Linked DNA regions of Homo sapiens: region 2 is linked to region 1. Evidence: promoter capture Hi-C in human tissues and cell types (Jung and others, 2019). All regions are on one chromosome and are shown on one strand. Each heading gives the region's core, a stretch centred on a gene start or on the middle of the fragment in contact. The rest is flanking DNA. Distances are from core to core; before and after follow the strand shown. Region 1 holds the start of EXOC4 (exocyst complex component 4). Region 2 overlaps PLXNA4 (plexin A4).

The links. Contacts are between HindIII fragments. The study calls those that stand out against the background at their distance.
Region 2: a contact is called between a fragment that was not itself captured here and the fragment with the promoter of EXOC4 in region 1, in 2 of the 25 tissues and cell types used here (aorta and dorsolateral prefrontal cortex).

The regions. Positions count from the first base shown.
Region 1 is chr7:133,251,092-133,254,699 of GRCh38, forward strand. It overlaps EXOC4 (exocyst complex component 4), which reads left to right and starts at 1,987. Exons shown (of 18, transcript NM_021807.4): 1 at 1,987-2,096. The coding sequence starts at 2,011. RefSeq lists enhancers at 1,754-1,803, 2,014-2,073. The HindIII fragment of the contact is 9,010 bases long and covers 1-3,608 here.
Region 2 is chr7:132,554,938-132,558,545 of GRCh38, forward strand. All of the region lies in intron 1 of PLXNA4 (plexin A4), which reads right to left. Among named protein-coding and RNA genes, the nearest start is that of PLXNA4, 20 kb to the right of the region's middle. The HindIII fragment of the contact is 3,227 bases long and covers 24-3,250 here.

The sequences.
Region 1 (3,608 bases), core at 737-3,236:
TTTTTTTTTTTTTTTGAGACAGAGTCTTGCTCTGTCGCCCAGGCTGGAGTGCAGTGGCGCGATCTCGACTCACTGCAAGCTCCACCTCCCGGGTTCACGCCATTCTCCTGACTCAGGCTCCCGAGTAGCTGGGACTACAGGCGCCCGCCAACACGCCCGGCTAATTTTTTGTATTTTTTTTTAGTAGATACAGGGTTTCACCGTGTTAGCCAGGATGGTCTTGATCTCCTGACCTCGTGATCCGCCCGCCTCGGCCTCCCAAAGTGCTGGGATTACAGGCATGAGCCACCCGGCGCCCGGCCTGTCCTGCATTCTTAACCACTAGGCCCAACTGCCTCTCCCTTTCTCTATGAATTATTTAATTTTATAGCCCAGTTTTTGTACTTATACCATAAAAATCTTTTTTTTTTTTTTTTTTTTGAGACAGAGTTTCCCTCTGTTGCCCAGGCTGGCGTGCAGTGTGCAGTGGAACGATCTTGGCTCACTGCAGCCTCCGCCTTCTAGGTTCAAGCAATTCTCATGCCTCAGCCTCCCAAGCAGCTGGGATTACAGGCACACACCACCACGGTCCGGCTAACTTTTGCATTTTTAGTAGAGACGGAGTTTCACCATGTTGGCCAGGCTTGTCTTAAACTCCTGGCCTCAAGTGGTCTGCTCGGCTCTGCCTCTCAAAAAGTGTTGGGATTACAGGTGTGAGCCATCACACTTGGCCCAAAAATCTTATTTTCTTTAAAAGCCATTAAAATTATGATTTCCAGAAGCTATATGTTATTTCCTCATTTGAATGTTACATAATTTATTTAATTCTTCTGTGTTATTTAAAAAATGTCAATACTCTATATTTCTTTAGGAACAAAGTCCCTAGAACTGGAATTATTGGGCCAAAGGTTATGAATACTTTTAAGTTATCGTGTGTGTGTGTGTGTGTGTGTTATCTTCAACTAATTTTTAAAAATGTGAACTTCTACCAGCTCGATGTCTATTTAATAAAAGTAATTGATGTGTTCTGAGCTTGCTGCTCACAACTCCATGACCTCTGAGTTAGTTTGCTTTCTATTCCTTTAAGTTCTTCAATCTTTATTGCTACTGAGCAGGCCACCTCCTTCCTTACTTTTAAATTATTATTATTCTTGTTCCTCAGTCTAACCACTTTCCACGCACATTCTGGTCTTTTTTGTTTTGTTTTGTTCATTTGGTCTTATGAATTAATGACTAAGCCAACGGAACCAAATGCAGGAAATACTAAAAACTTACCGGTAAAAGTATTAACACAAATGTGCATTACTACTAAGTATTTCATTTAGCTTGAAAAAAAAAAAAAAGGAATCTGCAGTGTGGTCTGTTTGTTTTTAGCTTATACTGTCTTTTCTTCATCAATATTCATTTATTCCTGTACGTGTGGTTTTAGAACTATCTGGAAATATAGGAACATTGGGAAAAATTGAACTCCACATAAACCTAATGTAGAAACATTAGTTTTACAGAATACTAAAGAAAAGCATTTCTGCTTATATTCATTTTCGTATTTTATTGGATTTTTTAAAAAATCACTTGCACTTAAGGCAAAAACTTCGCACATAGACATCCGGCAGAGAACCCCTCTTTCATTTAAATACAAACCCTAACACATTTTGGCATCATCAGATAAATTTGATTTAAAGCCTGACAAAATTCTAAAAGCAAGGAAACTGAAAAAAGCTGGAAGTCAGAATAAAGATAAATGAAGACACTCATTACAAGACTTAGGAAGTTGCAGCTGGTTTAGCTTTCCTGCGCGCCCAGGAGACGGAGAAGGAAAACTACGACTCCCAGAGTGCTTAGAGAGAACACGCGCGTCGTGGCCTCAAAACTTGCTCCCTTAGTCCCGCCTCCTCACTTCAGTGATTGGATTTTCCACTTCCGCGCCTCTGGAATTCTCTTCACCCATTGGTGGAGACTCCTGCGGGGTCAAATACAGAATTTACGCACCCTTGGCTTCCTTGGAGCCTAGCGGCTCTCCCCGCGTCCAAGATGGCGGCAGAAGCAGCTGGTGGGAAATACAGAAGCACAGTCAGCAAAAGCAAAGACCCCTCGGGGCTGCTCATCTCTGTGATCAGGTGAGGGAGGCAGGAGGCAGGGTCTGGGGACTGGGGGCAGCGGCTCGACCTCCGCTTTGGAAGGGAGAAGGGTTAGCTGGGTCCCACCCTGCTCTCCCCTTTCCTCCTTGCCTCCCGCAGCCCCTCCCCAGGGCTCTAACCCCTCCCCAGGGCCCCAGCAATTCCCCCTCCACCTTTTTTTTCTGGGGTTAGCTATAGAGAGAGGAGCCCCGCCTCAGTCTTTTCTTTAGGGGCAGCACCTTCTATTACAGTCTCGGGACCCCAAAGCACGCTATTTGGGTTTGGTAGAGAAAACCAGGTGTAAAGGTGTGTTTATTGATTCCTAAAATGCTTGTTTATTGTTTGCCTGTAGCAGCACTCACTGAGAAAGGCGTCTTGTTTCCTGGACTTTGGGGTGTAAGGCCTTGGAGTCCGGAGATTCCTGTCACGAGTTGCAGATTTGTGTTTTCACACTCTGGATACTTTCAACCACCTGTGCGTGGCCACAGCCACAAATACAAGAATCTGCAGTGAGCTGGTAGGAGGACTGGGTTTGAAGGCACACATCGGTTTTCAATTTTTTGCCCTGCCTCCGCATTCTGGTCCATTCCTTAAAAAACAGAACCAAACCAATTTCAAATTATCCTCCATGCACTGCCCCTCTGCACCTCCCAGAAGATTAGGGTGGGGGTGGAGTGGGAGCGGTGGATCTTTTAGGAGCTTTTTTTTAAAAAAGCGAAATATATTGAGGATGGGGGAACCCTTTCAAGAATCTTGGATATGATGCAGGTACTGACTAAAACCAATCTAAATAAAATTTATTATGGCACGTTTTTTACGTTGTTGGCATTTGAATTTCAACTCGTTTATTTTTCATAAACAAACACTCTATTTTTCCCCACCTATACTAAACTTTTGTTTGAGTTCTTGCAAGTTTTCTGGAATGTATTGATCATCTTTTCAAAACCCAGGGCCCAACATTATCTGGTAGGTACTAAGCACTTCAATGAATGCATGTATCAAACCATTAGAACAGCTTACCACTCACTGACAAAGACACATCTTATGGGTCTTATTTAGGAGGCTTTAAGATTATGGCCTATTAAATCATTACTTTAATTTTCTTTTGGGCTTAAGAGAAAAACATCTCTGTGTGGAAATGCTTAATATACTTGGTAGGCCATACAGAGGAAGTGCTGTTGTATTGTGAATCTATAGGCCCACATTCTCGCTGTGACAATACGCAGGTAGTGTAGATGTATCTCATGATACTAAAATTCCAATAAGAATGTTTGTTGTTTCCCATCTGAATTTCCTGTGGAATTAGAATACCAGGACATTATTTGGATCCTTTTTTGAACTTGTTTGTTTTTTCTACCTTATAGTCAACATTTATTTAAACAATAGGTATTTAGTGCCAGTTGACAGTATGGCGTCTGGCACGTATTACATATTGAATAATATTTGTTGACTTAATGAGTAAATGCCCTGAGTTTTGCAAAGATGAAGCAGGCACAGTGTTACCCTTGAGGA
Region 2 (3,608 bases), core at 387-2,886, 700 kb before region 1:
GCTCCAGGCAATAATTACTCACTAATGGTTAGCCACTGCTTTGAGCCAAGAGTCTCCTATCTGCTCTCCCTACACCAAATTCAGAGTCTTGGGTGGTAAACCTGAAGGAAAAAAAAAAACAAAAAAAAAACAGTAACCATCACCATGGCCTGGCAAAAAAACCACATTATCTAAGATATCACTCCAGGTCCTATAAAAATAACGTATGTTTACATGTGGATGGCTGATCTGAGCACAGATTGAATATATAAACGTGGCTGTTAATTCTAGACTCTGAGAAAATTCTGAGTCTTCCAAAAATAAAGGAATCCCTACAAATATTTTTAAATCTTTTTTTAAGAGGTCATACTCTGACAGAGAGCCAGAATTAATGCAATGGGACCAGCCACCTGCTCTTCTTCCCTTCCCATTTGCTTATAGAACCTCAAGGCAGTAGACTTGTTGAAGCCCAGTGTTAGAAACAGATGTGACTATTTATAAACCAAGAAAACTGAAGTGTTTTAATCCAACACAGGGTGGCAAGAAGCAGAACTGACAAGCTTTAGGAATCTGAAGAACAGGCAACAATTTTCAATAATATTACCTCTCCACTTATTGAGCATTTAATATGTGTCAAGCAGTGTGCAAGCTATTTCCCACGTATTATGTCACTTAATTGTTAGAGCAGTCCCTTATTTTACTCTTTTAATGATAAGGACACTGAACCTCAGAGAAGACAGGTAACATGCTGACGCCACACAGCTGAGTAGCCAAGGCTTGATGATGTCTGTAAATTACTTTAAAATGCATCAGCTTAAACAGAGTGGTATAATGTAAGTTAGTTCCAATCCTTACCCAAGGATGGTTAGTCGACATCTGAAGTATTGTAACTAACCAGGGCTGGTGACTTAGCCTTTGAAAGCCTTGCATCAGAGTCTACACTGTTTGTTAAAAAACATAAGAGATGTTGGAAACAATTTATCAGCAGGAAATTAAGCAGTGTCGAATATGCATAATTGGTTAGAAATGCCATCCAGGCATCTCTGCCCTTTGGGCACAAGAATCTGGCAAGCCTAGAGCCCTCTGTGGCTCCATTCTTGGCCTAGGGGTCCTACTAGGGTCTATTTCATCTCTCAAAGGATGCTGTCCTCTAATCCCACTAGAAGGTGAGCTGAAACCTGCAACCACATTGCCACATCTGCCTCAAATAAATCTTCCTTGAAATAAACTTGTAAGAGTTACTAAGTCAGTGCCTCCCAAACTTTCTCACTTCCTGACACTTGCAGAAAGTGATAATATTTTTACCACACCCTGGGGCCAGAGAGGGAGCTTCTGCTGCTGCATGCCCCTCGTGCCCTCTGGCTGTCCACCTGCAGGGTTGAGGTGACCCGCTATATCAGCAAACCTTGATACCCTTCCCCGGCACACTAGTTGAGGCAGACAGCAGGATCCACACTGAGCTTCAAAAACAGGCTGTATGGCTATTTATGTGCCTGGTTACTAACAAATATTGGTAGGTAGGGTAGAATTGAGTCTGCAACTTGCTTTTGTAGGAAGGTTGTGGAGGAGAAGGCCCATAGCTCTCACCTGCCTATAATCACTGGAAATGAGTCCCCACATAATCTGCCCATTGGGCATGGCCAAGTTGGCATTAAGTTGGGTTGCAGTGCCAGACCTGTCTGCCTCCAAAGTCTATCCTGGGTCCTGGGTGCTCCCCTGCTTCTGGAGCCTAAAGAAAGTGAATCAATGGTTATTTGTCAAACCCAAAAGGGAAGCTCTTCAGAAAATGCCATGTCAAAGGGTTCCGTCCTTGGCGCTGTGCTGTTTCATACTTTTATCCGTAAGTTGAATGAAGACTGAGAGTCACATTTATCAAATTTGCAACGGACAGATTCCAGGACTTGTGAAGGTCAAATGAGATAATATGAGAGAAGTCATTTAATAGTAGAGTAAGACTCAACCCATTGATGAGGATGAAACAAAGTTTAAGACTATCTTAGCAGCCTGAAACAGGGTCAAAACTGGAACCCCAAAAAGAAATTGAATGTGACAAACATAAATTCAAATTTTAGGCTTCAAAAAATATTAATGAATAAAGTACCAGGTGGCAGAAGTTTGTGTAAGACACACATATAATGAGGGTGGGAGAAGCTTAGAGACCCACTGGTTACGAACCAGCAGTGGGATGGGGGCTGCCCAGAAACCCTGCCACATGAATGAATTTTGACATTGGGCTTTGCTATCCACACCTCCTGCAGATGGTGACCTGCACCTGTGATCAGTCACAAAATTAGATGTGGAGTCAGACCTACCTGCACCATGAGAAGCAATGAGCTCTCCATCAATGTGCAAAGCAGTTAAAAGAGAAGGAACCCTCTATCACGTGCTACTGAAGTTGAGTTGTTCCCATCCCCTGCAAAGGCTCCCAACTTGCCAGCACAGCCAGGATGTTTGGCTCAGAGAAAAGAGGTGGCAGGAGAGTTTATCAAAACCTACAACTTAAGATTTTCTTCACAGAAGATGGAGGAAATGGCGGCAGGGGGGGACGTAAAGATAGGCAATCAATTACCAAGGAGCCCTTGAATAAAAATCTCTTTATTTCCTTGAATTTTCCTTTAATTTATCTTTTTTTTAAAAAAAAAAAAGTTTTCACCTTTGCAAAACCTTTGGACTTTTTGACCAAAGACAACAGGAAGTCAGCCAAGTTTAATGGAGTTTTCATTTTGAAAAAGATGTTATCTGCAGCTCCTCTGTGCCTACCAAGCAATATGGTACGTCTGTGGTCTAGAGACCAACTCATTAGGTGCTCTGTTTACCATCAGCTGGTGAAAAATGATAATTGTATGGAAGAATAATCACCAAGACATGGACATCACTGCCTGCAGACTTCGCCAGGAAGCTACTTCCCACTTCCTGTAGATCCGCAGCTGTTTCAGGATGTGTAATGCCCTCTACTGTCCTACCATTCAAATACTTCTCTTTTCAAGCTCAGAAAACCAAGTTTAAGGTAGGGAGAGAGAGAGAGAGAGAGAGACAATCAAACAACCTTATGTTGGGTCCAGAGGGAACTGCAAATGTGTCTAAGACAATGCCTGCTTTCAAGAAGCTTGCAATTAAGTGGGAATATGAGATGTAAATACTGAAAATACAAGCCAATAAATCATATATTACCAGGAAATTCTTGGCAGGCTGAGTTTTCAGAAAGTCTCTACGTGTACTACTGTCTGCACACAAAAATGCCCAGACCTGGCATGTGGCTAAGTCTACTTGTAAAATTTGTTACCTGGTTAAATGCTGTTCCATGCCTACCAATATTTTTAAGTTTTCAAATATAAGTTTTAGGTGAAAATGCCATTCTTTCAAAACAGTATGTGCTGGAGAAATGACATTTTTTCAAAGCAAATTTTCTATATTTGGTCATGTGATATTCTGTAAGCTTTTTTATAAAGGCTCTTTAGAACATTCCAAAAATGAGCATCATCAAATTAAAACAAGAGAACTTCTATTACATTGCCACAAATCCTAGATGTAAATAAAATACCATTTCACTCAATAATGATTGCCAGAAATATAAATACAGTTTAGAAAAATTATTTAATTAGTTTATTTTTAAGTATTTGCCAAGAAGG